Regions from separate parts of the Homo sapiens genome. Here regions 1, 2, 3 and 5 are each linked to region 4. Evidence: promoter capture Hi-C in 16 types of primary human blood cells and fetal thymus (Javierre and others, 2016). All regions are on one chromosome and are shown on one strand. The core of a region is centred on a gene start or on the middle of the fragment in contact, and the rest is flanking DNA. Distances in the headings are between cores, read along the strand shown. Region 1 overlaps UBASH3B (ubiquitin associated and SH3 domain containing B). Region 2 has its middle 29 kb from the start of SNORD14E. Region 3 has its middle 22 kb from the start of UBASH3B. Region 4 holds the start of CRTAM (cytotoxic and regulatory T cell molecule). Region 5 overlaps UBASH3B (ubiquitin associated and SH3 domain containing B).

Region 1 (2,700 bases), core at 164-2,663, 160 kb after region 4:
CTCAGCTCACTGCAACCTCCGCCTCCAGATTCTCCTGCCTCAGCCTCCCAAGTAGCTGGGATTACAGGCGTGCGCCACCACGCCCGGCTAATTTTTGTATTTTCAGTAGAAACGGGGTTTTGCTATGTGGGCCAGGATGGTCTCCAACTCCTGACCTCAAGCGATCTGCCCGCCTTGGCCTCCCACACTGCTGGGATTACAGGTATGAGCCACCATGCCAGGCCCTGTGGTCATAATTTAAATAGTCACAGTCTTTTAAAGATACAAACTGAAATACAGACTAAATGATACATCTAAGACTTTTTTTTTTTTTTTTTGAAACAAGGTCTCACTCTGTCTCCAGGCGGGAGTGCAGTGGCGGCTCACTGCAGCCTCGACTTCCAAGGCTCAAGGGATCCTCCCACCTCAACCTCCCAAGTAGCTGTGACTACAGGCATGCACCACCATGCGCCTGGGTAACTTATTTTTTGTAGAGATGGGGTCTTACTGTATTGCCCAGGCTGGCCGCAAGACCAACTCCTGGGCTCAAGCAATCTTCCTGCCTTGGCCTCCCGGAGTTTTGTGATTACAGGCATAAGCCACCATGCCTCACTCTAAAATTTAATTCAAAATTATATGGGGAGGGTGGGGAAGTGGGTGGTATTGATGAAACAGGATCAAGGATGAATTGCTTGACGCATTTGTTTTGTTATACTATTCTTACTACCTTAGGATAAGTTAGAAAATTTCCATTAAATTTTTTTAATCAGTAGTTTATTATATTTATAATCACTGTAGGATGGCTGGTGAATTCTACAGAGCAAGCTTCCCCGTGACAGTGCTGGGCTTGGTGCAGCTCCCTCTTGGAGGGGAGGGGAAGCTACAGGCAGCCCAGAGCTGGGTTATTCCTCTAGCCCTGCCAGGAGAGAATGAGAGGAGAGCTGGCCCCTAGTGTCCTAATTACCATCTTCCTCAAAGAAGCTCTCGGTTAGAAAGAGACGTGCATCTCAGGCTCCAGGAACCAAATGAAGGAGAAAGAAGTGTTTCTCAACTTTTTACAGGGAAAGATACAAACTCGGGAAAGGCAGACTGGAAAGAATATGGAATTTGGAGTCAGAAGGTTAGAGTCACTCCTTGCCCCACAACAGGGACAAGTGAACTTCTCAGGACAAGTGAACGCCTCAGCGTCCCCATCTATAAAAATGGGAATATAACTATCATCCATATCAAATAACTGCCACGAGGATGAGATGAGATCTCATACTGGACGGTGAGAGGCAGCTTGGTGCCGTGGGTCAGACTTGTGTCTGTTGGTGGCTCCGTTGTACCATCCACACAGTCAACTACTAAATAAATGAAAACTATTATAATTAATTATTTAAGAAAAAGCAATTTGTCCAAGGCCTCATGGTGCGTCGGCAGGGTTGGCAGGGTACTACGCAGGAGGAGAATTTGCACTCGCTATCCTCGCAGTGATCCCTCCGAGCTTCCAAGTGGCTGTACATGGGCAGATGATTCACGACTGGTGCTTTTTTGACAAGGCAGGGAGAACAGACAGGAGATGGGCCCATCTTGTTCTGACAGCTGGGCCACCCTGGGTGGCAGTGATGAGTCAGCCTTGCTGCTGCCACACTCAGCACACAAGGCTTCCCAAACCCAGGCAGAGCATCGTGGATCGCAGACACGCTGACCATGCAGTTGTGTGATGGCAACAGATGACTTGTCTCTTTGTGTCCCTTCCCCAAAAGTACTCAGTAACCTAACAGGCTTCTACCAGCCTCCAAATAGAAGCATCTTTTTTTCAAACCCTGAAGGGATCAAGCAAGCCAGAGGGGTAAGCATGTGGGTTTGCATGCATGTGCCTGTGTGTGTGTGTGTGTGTGCATGTGTGTACAGAAGAATGCATATGAACCTGTGCCTATTACCCCTGCAGACAGCATGCTATCCCAGTGTCATGGTGGAAGAACAAGGAACAGGACATTCAAACAGTGGATGACCAGGTCCCTACTTCCCAGGACTCGGCTTTCTTTGGAGGGAAGCTTATCCATGTTCCCCGAGGACCTACTACACACGTGATTTCAGAGTGGACTGTTCAGTGTGGCTTGTCTGGGACTTATATTCTCAATCTCATCATTGCCTTTCTGTGTCCAAAACCAAAGCATCAGAGGTACAAGAAGGCAAAACTCCATTTCCTCTGTGAGCACTGTTCCTGTTTGACTGAGGAATCTGGCTAGAACAAGAAGAAATAGGGCCAGAGTTGGGGCTATGTATGTAGAAATTTTGGGTGGATTTAAAGAAATCAACGTCTTGGATTTTGTCACAAGAAAAATCACTTAGACACCCTACAGTTATGGATAAGAAACCAAATGGAATGCTTGATTCATTCTATTATGCTTTTAAGTAACTATTACAATGAATGATTCATTAATTACTATGAAAGAGCAAGGTTTCAACAAAAACAAATACGAATAAATTAAATAATTTCTAGCGAAACTTCATTTGTTATGGAATAGCACCTAATCTAACTTTTATTTTGCTAAATAAAAAAGAGTTTTGGTATCTTATTTCAGGTATTGAAATGCCTCGGGTCTTGCTCTGGACAAACACATTGCCCTGGGACCGGCTGCTCACAGCATTTTGGCTTTGACACGGCAGCTCTGACATTAAAAAGCCCTTAACTAACCATTTGCAACATATCAGAAAAAAGGTTAATTTGCCTTT
Region 2 (2,700 bases), core at 3-2,502, 190 kb before region 4:
GGGTTTTTTTGTTTGAAATGAGAATGCCCTATTATGCTGAAAATAAGTTCAGAAAATTAGCCCTGCATCCATATGCCTAAAGGTAATCAGAGTTGACCCCATTTAAATACCAGTGGGCCTCAGGAAATGGAAAAATGGGCAGTGAATAAAATTTGTCCAGTAATAAAATTTGCCCAGTTTCCCTTGGTTTTGTGTCGAGCTGTGCTTAATGTTAGGAAGAAGTTGAGGAGCCTCTGTAAGAGTTGTCTATGAAGTGACATTTGTGTCCTTTCAGCTGATATTACAGGAAGTAACAGGCAGGTGGAAACACAGAAAGAAAGACACAGAGACATTTATTCTAGGTCGTGTGTATTTCTGAAACTGTAAACTCAAATTCACTTGATTATGGAAATGGCGTTAGTTCTAGCTAAAAAAATTGTGGGCAAAATTAGTGCCAGATGGCTGGGTGTGGTGGCTCACGCCGGTAATCCCAGCACTTTGGGAGGCTGAGGCAGGTGGATAACCTGAGGTCAGGAGTTCAAGACCAGCCTGGCCAACATGGCAAAACCCTATCTCTACTAAAAATATGAAAATTAGCTGGGCATGATGGCAGGTGCTTGTAATTCCAGCTACTTGAGAGGCTGAGGCAGGAGAATCACTTGAACCTGGGAGGTGGAAGTTGCAGTGAGCTGAGATCTCGCCATTGCACTCCAGCCCGGGCAACAGAGGGAGACTCCGTCTCAAAAAAAAAAAAAAAAATTAGTGCCAGAAAACAAAAGACAAGTACACATGGGAGGGAAGAAGTAAATTCTAGAAAGTATAGACCAGTATTCTTGAAATTGATCATGGCAAAACTCCAGAATACATTACAAAAACAATGTTTTGTAAGTCTTTGAAAGAGGTTTGTCATTCATTTAGCATGAAGTATAATTTCCATTTTGTCTGTGATCAAACTGGCTCATCAGGGACGTGCTGTAGAAACAAGGTGATTGAAGAGAATAAATGATAGGTCATTTATGAAAGCTCTTGACACACAGCAGAGGCACAGTAATTACCAGTTGCTCTCCTTCAGGCATTCATAATAGTCATCAGAGGATGGGCGTGGTGGCTCACACCTGTAATCCCAGCACTTTGGGAGGCTGAGGCGGGTGGATCACCTGAGGTCAGGAGTTTGAGACCAGCCTGGCCAACATGGTGAAACCCCCGTCTCTACTAAAAATACAAAAATAAGCCAGGTGTGGTGGTGGGTGCCTGTAGTCCCAGCTACTCAGGAGGCTGAGGCAGGGGAATCGCTTGAACCCAGGTGGCAGGCTTCAAAACAAGCATATGAAAAGATGTTTAATATCATTGGCCATAAGGGAATTGCAACCCAAAACAACAATGAAGTACCATTACACACCAATCAAGATGGCTACAGTAAAAAAGACTACTAATAATAAGTGTTAGCAAAGATATTAAACATTTGAACTCCTCATACACTGTTGGTAGGAATGTAAAATAGTGCAGTCGCTTTGCGATTCCTCAAAAAGTTAAACATAGCGTTACCATATGACCTAGAAATTCCACTCCCAGGTATGTACCAAGAGAAATGAAAACACACATCCACACAAAAATGCATACATGAATGTTCATAGCAGTGTTCTTCATAATAGCCAAAAAGTATCAACGCTCCAAATGTCCAACTATTGAATGGATAAATAAAATGTGGCATATCCATATAACGGTATATTAGTCAGCCATAAAGTAATGAAGTACTGATACATGTTGCAACATAGAAGAACCTTGAAAACATTATGCCAAGTGAAAGAAGCCAGTCACAAAAGACCATATTGTATGATTCTATTTCTATGAAATGTCTATAGGCAAATCTATAGAAATAGAAAGCAGACAGGTGGTTGCCTAGGGCTTGGGGGAGGGAGTTTGGGGAGAAATATGGAGTGACTACTAATGGATATGGGATTTTGCCTGGTTGACAGAAATGTTCTAAAATCTATTTTGGCAATGGATGCTCAGCTGTGGATATACTAAACGCTATTCAACTGTACATTTTAAAGGGGTGAATTGTATGGTACGTGCCTAACATCTCAATAAAGCTGTTGAAAAATTCTCTTCTCATAGTGCTCATATCTTAGTGGAAAGCAAAAGGATTCAACCTTCTAAGGATCTTTCCAATCTGTCCACTTCTCTTTGTCCAGCACGTTACCATCTCCTCTTTGGATCACCACAAAAGCCTCCCGCCTCTTCTGGCTCCAGTGTGGCCTGCTGTGAATCTCCTCTATAAATCTCCACTTTGCTGCCTTAGAAATCTTTCTGAAGGGCCATTGAGATGCTCCTCCTGCCTCCATCTCACCACGGCTTCCACAGCCTTAAAGGTGAAGTCCAGGCTCTTTCACTCCACTGAAAAGGCCCTGTATGATCTGGTCCCTACTAATCTCTGACTTCATTTCTCACCACTCATCACTTGGGCCACGAACTCTTTCAGTTTTGCAAATCTCTTTGCCCTGTCTCAATTCCAGGCTTTTGCAAAGCCTGATTGTTCTGCCTTTTGGGTCTCAGCTCACATGCCACTTGTTCTGGAAGCTTTTTTCTTAAATACTCCCCGTCTTCACACAGTAGAGCCCTGCCCCCGCAACAGGTGTGTGCCCATTCATTTCCTAGACTTACTGCGTGCCAGGCACCTTTTTTTGTTTGAGACAGGGTCTCGCTCTGCCACCCAGGCTG
Region 3 (2,700 bases), core at 83-2,582, 200 kb after region 4:
CAGATGTAAACGCTTCTCTTTCGAACCAAAGACACACCATATACCCTACTCCACCCTGGACCGGGGGCCTCTGTGCTCAGCACACTATAGATAGGGCTGAGTATAAAAACCACACACAGGGCTGGGCACGGTGGCTCACACCTGTAATCCCAGCACTTTGGGAAGCCAAGGTGAGTGGATCACTTGAGGTTGGGAGTTCGAGACCAGCCTGGCCAACATGGTGAAACCCTGTCTCTACTAAAAATACAAAAATTAGCCGGGTGTGGTGGTGCGTGCCTGTAATCCCAGCTACTAGGGAGGCTGAGGCAGGAGAATCGCTTGAACCTGGGAGGTGGAGGTTGCAGTGAGCTGAGATCGCGCCGCTGCACTCCAGCCTGGGCAACAGAGGGAGACTCTGTCTCAAAAAACAAAAAACAATACAACAACAACAACAACAACAACAACAAACCACACACAGGGCCCAAACCAAGGCTGGCTCCGTGGGACCAGAGATACTCTCAGTCAGCCTGAACCAAGCCCTAAACTGGAAGGCACCAGGAGCGGTAGGAACAGTAGCCGGCACCGCGTGTGGGGTGGGGCAAAGGGCCTGGAGCTCGCCTTACCCTGCATCCAGGAAGTTGCTGGCCTGACTTCCAGCCACCACCAGCTGTGTGAGTTGTCACTAAAAGGCAATTGTAACTGCCTCCTCTTTTTGGTTCAGATTACAAATGGTAACTAACCAACCCCCAAAAAGAAAAAAAATGTTCCGGTTTGGAAATCTGAGACCATCTGTTTCTCATTCTATTTCCCCTCTCTTTTCTGGATTTTTTATATTTGATCCTCTCCCTCTCTCACTCGCTCCCACTCCTGAAAACACACAGTTCAGCCAGGAGCATAGTGACCTTATTTGACTATCTTTTCTTTAATGAGAATGCTGGATTTGTTATTGGGATTAAATTTGAAAATTCCTTGTTTCCATTCAAAATAGATGCCTTGGATTGTTTACTTAAAAATGTTTTTTCATAAAAATTGTTTCTGTATTTAATCTAGATAATAAATAAATCTAAATGAAATAAAATAAAAATAAACAAAGTCACATATGATGAAGCCACATGTAGTTTTGTTGAAATCCATGCAAAATTCCATCTTAAAGTCTTTTTTTTTTTTTTTGAGACAAAGTCTCACTCTGTCACCCAGGCTGGAGTTCAGTGGCACGATCTCGGCTCACTGCAACCTCCACCTCCCAGGTTCAAACGATTCTCCTGCCTCAGCCTCCTGAGTAGCTGGGATTACAGGTGCCCACCACCATGCCAGGCTAATTATTTAATTTTTAGTAGAGATGGGGTTTCTCCATGTTGGCCAGGCTGGTCTCGAACCGCTGGCCTCAAGTGATCTGCCCCCCTCAGCCTCCCAAAGTGCTGGGATTACAGGCAAGGGCCACCTCGCCCAGCCTCTTAATGTCTTATTAACAGACTCATTTAAATTTAATGAAATGGCTGGATGTGGTGTCTCGCGCCTGTAATCCCAGCACTTTGGGTGGCTGAGGTGGGAGAATCACTTGAGGCTAGTAGTTCCAGGTTAGCTTGGGGAATATAGCAAGACCCCGATTCTACAGACAACTTAAAAAATTAGCCAGGCTTGGTGACACACCTGTAGTCCCAGCTACTCAGGAGGCTGAGGTGGGAGGATTGCACGAGTCCAGGATGTTGAGGTTGCAGTGAGCTGTGATCACGTCCCTGTATTCCAGCCTGGGTGATACAGCAAGTCCCTGTCTCTAAAAAAAATAAAAATAAAAATAAATTTTTAAAATTAATCAGAGGATCAGTTACGGATTAAAATGCAATATTGAACTCTCTGTATTGGAAGCAGCAACAGTGTTGCGAGGACTGCTTCTCTCCTGGGATTCAGGCATGGGCCGGCTGGCTTTAGAAACTCTCTATTTCCCTATAGTCTGGTGTTACAGGTCCCTCTTGTGTTGGTTGTTAACATTGTCTTGCTTCTGTTCTAGAACCATGAGAACCTGATTCTGTAATTGAGTTAATCAGCATATTGCAATCAATATTCTCCTCATCACCATCATCATCACCATCAATAGCTAGGTGTACATACAGAAGACAATGGGAAATCAGTGTAGGGTCGTTTAAAACCACGTGCTTTGTAGCCAGATGGATCTGAGTTCGAACTGTTATTTCTCAGCGATATTACCTGGGGCAAGTTAATTACACTTTTGTGTATTAGTTTCTGCATTGATTAAGTAGAGGTGATAATAATACTCATTTTCAAGAGAAAATAGGATAATGTATATAAAGTGTCCGATGTAGAGTCTTAAAAAATGTACTTCCTTTCCTATTCACTTCTTTTTCTAAGGAAGACAGAATTCTTTTTTATTTTTATTTATTTTATTTTATTTTAGAGATGGAGTCTTGCTCCATCGCCCAGGCTGGAGTGTAGTGACAAGATCTCAGCTCATTGCAACCTCTACCTCCCATGTTCAAGCGATTCTCCTGCCTCAGCCTCTCGAGTAGCTGGGACTACAGGCACCTGACACCATGCCTGACTAATTTTTGTATTTTTAGTAGAGACGAGGTTTTGCCATGTTGGCCAGGCTGGTCTCAAATTCCTGACCTCAGGTGATCTGCTCGCCTCGGCATCCCAAAGTGCTGGGATTACAGGCGTGAGCCACTGCGTCTGGCCCAGAAATTCTTGAAAAGTGAGTAAAGA
Region 4 (2,700 bases), core at 169-2,668:
ACAGGGACCAAAAAAAGAAGGCATTAATTGAAGTATATAAAATAGGGAATTGAAGTACTATGTAAAATAGGAAATCGAGTTTTTTAAAGTAGCGTCCTTCAGATGCCATTCCAGATTAAATGTAGATTTAGAAGGATAGGTGCATTTCATGAAACAGAACTACAGTTTCAATATTTGGTAACAAACACACAAAAAGCAAAATTTTTGAGTGGATTTGTGAGGGATGTCCTTTGCATGAATCTGATACAATTGTAAGCAGAGACTGAGGGACAACAGGAGCCACTTCCTACACCCCTGCCCCCACTTTTGGGTAGAAAATAATTTGACCTGCTCCAAAAAGGTAACTGCTTCTATCCTTAATTTTCATAATGCTACATTAGGATTAAGCACTAAAATCCAAATTTGAAAATTATAGTAAAATGTAAAGTATAACTTACTCTTTAAAAATAAACACGAAGTTTTCATTGGTCTCATTATTACCTCTGAGCTAAATAAGTGTTGCACAGCGCTTTATCATTTTCAAAGTGCTTTCACATTTGAAATTTGATCCTTCTAACAATCCAGGGAGTTTGGTGGATCAAAAGTTTTTATCATTTTCATTTTAAGATGCAGAAACTGAGTTTCAAAGAGATTAAATCGTTTGGCTAAGATTTATACAGCAAGGAAATTTTAAAATTCAACGTGGAGGCCGGGCGCGGTGGCTTACGCCTGTAATCCCAGCACTTTGGGAGGCTGAGGTGGGCAGATCACGAGGTCAGGAGATTGAGACCATCCTGGCTAACACGGTGAAACCCCGTCTCTACTAAAAATATAAAAAAATTAGCCGGGCGTGGTGGTGGCGGGCACCTGTAGTCCCAGCTACTTGGGAGGCTGAGGCAGGAGAAAGGCGTGAACCCGGGAGGCGGAGCTTGCAGTGAGCCGAGGTCGTGCCGCTGCACTCCAGCCTGGGCGACAGAGCGAGACTGTGTCTCATAAATAAATAAATAAATAAAATAAAATAAAATTCAATACGGATGCTCTTTCAACTGGTATGCCCTTAAAAGACAGAGCCTAATAAGCTTGTTTCATCTTGCCGTAACATAGGACCCACAGAGACACACACTATAATGATCCTTTCTATACTCCTTAGCCATTGAACGAGAGATCAAATAAACGCAGTAACATCCCTCAGATGCATGATTTGAGCATGGCTTGGAAAGTATTAGCAGTTACCTGGGTTGTCTTCTACAGCAGCTCCTCTGTAAATGCAGTTGACTGACTGATAGGTAGATGTGGCAAAACATTAAGTCAGCTGAGCAACAACAAAAATAACTCTAAGTCCTTACCTTGCAAGGGGAACCATGCCAGCAAGCTGAGAACTCTCCACCACATACTGTGCTGTGCTGCTGTGGCACCTTTGTCAACTTCCTCTAGATTCTGAGACAAATGGAGCTGAGTAGTTTCTTTTAAAGGGGGAGAGGCAGTAGATCTGTGACCTCATGTGTATCAACTCCTCCATCTGTCTGGAAGCCCCCTCTTAGTTAGCTGCCCCCAGAACACCTCCTGGTGGAACATTTTGGGGACCACATGTATTATCTTGATGGCAGAGAGGTGTGAGTGATGTGTTGGTGACAAAAATTGTTTTACCACAAGTGGGTAGTACTGGTAAATCAACTAGTTGCAAGGTTTTTAGAGGGAGCATGGGTGGGAGAAATACTGTAAAATGTCCCTGTGTAGTGACGTCATCCTTATTTTTACTTTTCTAGTTTATTAGATAAATACAATTAGATAATTTTTGCTCAACCTTTGGGAATATTTTATTTCTATGCTGACATCAATTTATAATTGTTGTCGGGGAGGAATTCATTCATTCATATAGATATACTCATTTTTGAAATCTATATATCTGTCCACCCACCCATCCACCCATCTTTTCATCCACCCACTCACAAATACAAATCTATTCATCCACCTATCCATCCATCCATCCTTCCATCCATCCACCCACACATCCATCCACCCATCCATTTATCCTTCCATCCACCCACTCACTCATGTATTACCTGCCCACTCATTCCCCATCCACCCATCCATCCATCTATTCATCCACACATCCATCCATCTCTCCATCCATCCAGCCAGCCAGCCATCCATCTATTTATCCATCCATCTATCCATCTATCCATCCATCCATCCATCCATCCATCCATCCATCCATCCATCCATCCATCCATTTATCCACCCATCCATCCATTCACCCATCCATCTATCCATCCATCCATCCGTCCATGACCTATTCATTCACCCACCCATCTATCTATACATGCAAATACTCATCCATCCACCCAACCACCCATCTATCTATCCACCCACGCATTCATCCATTCACCCACTCATTCATCCATTTACCCACCCATCTATCTATACATATGTCCGTCCGTCCATCCATCCATCCATCCATCCATCCATCCATCCTTCTATCCACCCATTCATCTTGTCACCTGTACAGCATCTAGTATGCACTACTTTGAGACATGCTCAAATAAAAAACATAAATTCCTTGTTTTTCAGGAGAATATAATCTAGTGGGGGAGACAATGTACATATGAACAGTTCTGGTATTTAATTTTCATTAATTGGACAAATTGAGATAGATTTAATGTAGTTTTTCCAGGAGCACACAGTAAAATATTAGTAAGTTTATGTTTAGAAAACAGAGAT
Region 5 (2,700 bases), core at 90-2,589, 140 kb after region 4:
CACGTAACTATGTTGGACTTGGATTCATTACTAAAGCAAATAATTCGGTTTTCCTAGGAACAAATGCTACTTTTCCTCATGGGCTGTTTGCTGACCATCCCTCTTGGTTGAGCATACGCTGCATTACTTGGAAGCCACATGTTAGGACTAAGGGAGACATAGAGAAGTAAAGAACACAGCATCTGTCCTCAAAGAAACGGTCGTCTTCACTGGGAGGGAAGATTGAAATGTGGCATTACAGCTGGGCGTGGTGGTTCACACTTGTAATCCCAGCATTTTGGGAGGCCGAGGCAGGAGGATCACGTGAGCCCAGGAGTTTGAGGCTGCGGTGAGCATGATCATGCCACTACATGCCAGCCTGGGTGACAGAGCAAGACACAGTTTCTTGGAAACAAACAAACAAACAAACATGGCAGTACGAGGGCTCAGAAGGGAAGATGCTAATATATTCACTCAGAGTTCAGAAAAGGCAGATGGTTTGCTTTGGGCAAAAGTTGTCAGGAGAGGTTTTCAGACCAAAGCAAGGACATCTTGAGGGGAGAGTCAAAAGGAAAGAATTAATCCTATTTTCAGCTCTCTATCCCTGAATACTCTTAGTTCCTTCAAGCAGCAGTGGGCTAACAAGTGATGCTACAGGACCGTATGCCAATGCAAGCGAGGACCCTGTGACCTTCAACAGACCTCTGCGTCACCATGGAGCTTTGAGATGAGTGTCAGAAGGAAGAACAAGCTCATTTTGAAAAGTACACAGACGTTGGAAACTGTGAGTATTACCCAAAAAAAAGCTTGAAAGGCTCCCATCCCCATCGGGTGACCAGCAGAACTTGCCACTGCAAGAGCCTCGTTCTCATTAATAAGAGTTCATTTTATTATTTCCATGCTATGTAATTTCTCCCACTGCCTTTTAGACTGGAACATTCAACTTTTTGCACTTCATATTAATTACCCTGGGGGATTCAGGCTACAGTGCACAATAAGAAGACCCAATTAGAACATTGCCTACTGTCTTTTTGTTTCTTTGTAATCCAAAATCAATCAATAACATCCTTAAATCCTCACAAGAAATGACTAGAGTTATTAACGTCTTGGACAAAGAAGCCAAGAAATTCAAAGCAGATGGAGCAGAATCACACAAATCACACAACCATGCAAATTAGTAGCAGCCCGTGGGCTTGACAGGGTCAGAATGCTGGGGGTTGGGAATTTTTAATATGAAACAGAAAATATACCCCATAACACTAATGTTCTTTTTGTGATGAGACGTGATGATTCTGGTTTAATGTGGAGCAGGGTGTCTTCAGGAGCTCTGAGAAAACACAGGCTTCCCAGTGCTCATCTACATAGCACATCCCTGTCTGGGACAGTTTACTGTTCACCCTACATGAAGTGTTCTCTCACCTGTCAGAAACACACTTCCTCTACAAATTGCATCCCCTACTGTTAACATCAAGATCAGAAGTAGGCCAGGTGCTTTGGCTCATGCCTATATTCCCAGCGCTTTGGGAGGCCGAGGAGGGTGGATCACCTGAGGCCAGGAGTTCAAGACCAGCTTGACCAACATGGTGAAACCCCATCTCTACTAAAAATACAAAATTTAGCTGGGTGTGGTGGTGAGCACCTGTAATCCCAGCTACTGGGGAGGCTGAGGCAGGAGAATTGTTTGAACCCGGGAGGTGGAGGTTGCAGTGAGCCGATATCATGCCACTGCACTTCAGACTAGGTGACAGAGCGAGACTCCATCTCAAAAAAAAAAAAAAAAAGATCAGAAGTAAACTATGAGAGTGAGTAAGATGAACATATGAACATTTACATTGAAAAATGTGAAAAAAACTTAAGATGTAATGGTGTTTGGAAAAGAATTGTTAACTGTATCCACTAAACCATAAAGCTTAACAAAATCCCAAACTTGGGAAATGAATTTTAAAAATGGACTCACCATGTGTAACTCTGGTCAGAGCCTAAACAAAGGAGGAGACAAAGCTTATGATGTCAGCCCATCTCATTCAGCACTGGGGACTTTGTGCTAGTTCAAAGTGTTGAGGAATTGGATCTCTACCTAATCATAAGAGACTGACCTCTTCCTCACTCCAACAGCGGTGCTGCTCCCGGGGGAATGATGGTTACCTCAGTTTCTCTTGGCCTCTCAGATGTGCAGCATGTCGGGTCTCCGCTAGTACCCACACATGATACCTCATGCTGCAAACCTACCCACTGAATACGGCCAAGTGAATAAAGCACCACCAACAACACGACCTCTAGTTCCACTGCTGGGCTCTGGGTACCATTGTCAATTCCTTGATCGATTTCCAAAGCTAAACAATAATATTTACGTAAACCTTAATAGATTACAAGACATTGAAATATCAGTCATCTGGGCTGGGCATGGTGACTCATGCCTGTAATCCCAGCACTTTGGGAGGCCGAGGCAGGTAGATTACTTGAGCTCAGGAGTTCAAGACCAGCCAGAGCAACATGGCGAAACCATGTCTCTACAAAAAAATACAAAAATTATCTGGCTGTCATGGCATTTGCCTCTAGTCCTAGCTACTCAGGAGGCTGAGGTGGGAGGATCGCTTGAGCCCTGGAGGCGGAGGTTGCAGTAACCAGAGATTGCACCACTGCACTACAGCCTGGTGGCAGAGGGAGACCTTGTTTCAAAAAAAAAAGAAAGGAAAGAAAGAAAAGAAAGAAAGAAAGAAA

What was found. The method cuts DNA at HindIII sites, captures the fragments that hold promoters and counts their contacts. A CHiCAGO score of 5 or more calls a contact.
Region 1: a contact is called between a fragment that was not itself captured here and the fragment with the promoter of CRTAM in region 4, in 2 of 17 cell types (naive CD8 T cells and total CD8 T cells). The highest score is 9.5, in naive CD8 T cells.
Region 2: a contact is called between a fragment that was not itself captured here and the fragment with the promoter of CRTAM in region 4, in 2 of 17 cell types (total CD8 T cells and naive CD8 T cells). The highest score is 6.8, in total CD8 T cells.
Region 3: a contact is called between a fragment that was not itself captured here and the fragment with the promoter of CRTAM in region 4, in 12 of 17 cell types (megakaryocytes, naive CD8 T cells, naive B cells and 9 more). The highest score is 10.4, in megakaryocytes.
Region 5: a contact is called between a fragment that was not itself captured here and the fragment with the promoter of CRTAM in region 4, in 1 of 17 cell types (naive CD8 T cells). The highest score is 5.9, in naive CD8 T cells.

What each region holds. Positions count from the first base shown.
Region 1 is chr11:122,680,857-122,683,556 of GRCh38, reverse strand. All of the region lies in intron 1 of UBASH3B (ubiquitin associated and SH3 domain containing B), which reads right to left. Among named protein-coding and RNA genes, the nearest start is that of UBASH3B, 26 kb to the right of the region's middle. The HindIII fragment of the contact is 1,214 bases long and covers 807-2,020 here.
Region 2 is chr11:123,027,443-123,030,142 of GRCh38, reverse strand. No RefSeq gene overlaps it. Among named protein-coding and RNA genes, the nearest start is that of SNORD14E, 29 kb to the left of the region's middle. The HindIII fragment of the contact is 2,618 bases long and covers 1-2,561 here.
Region 3 is chr11:122,632,651-122,635,350 of GRCh38, reverse strand. No RefSeq gene overlaps it. Among named protein-coding and RNA genes, the nearest start is that of UBASH3B, 22 kb to the left of the region's middle. The HindIII fragment of the contact is 2,858 bases long and covers 1-2,700 here.
Region 4 is chr11:122,837,218-122,839,917 of GRCh38, reverse strand. CRTAM (cytotoxic and regulatory T cell molecule) reads right to left here and starts at 1,418. Exons shown (of 10, transcript NM_019604.4): 1 at 1,326-1,418. The coding sequence starts at 1,371. The HindIII fragment of the contact is 4,925 bases long and covers 1,061-2,700 here.
Region 5 is chr11:122,699,558-122,702,257 of GRCh38, reverse strand. The region is part of intron 1 of UBASH3B (ubiquitin associated and SH3 domain containing B); the gene reads right to left. Among named protein-coding and RNA genes, the nearest start is that of UBASH3B, 45 kb to the right of the region's middle. The HindIII fragment of the contact is 1,103 bases long and covers 788-1,890 here.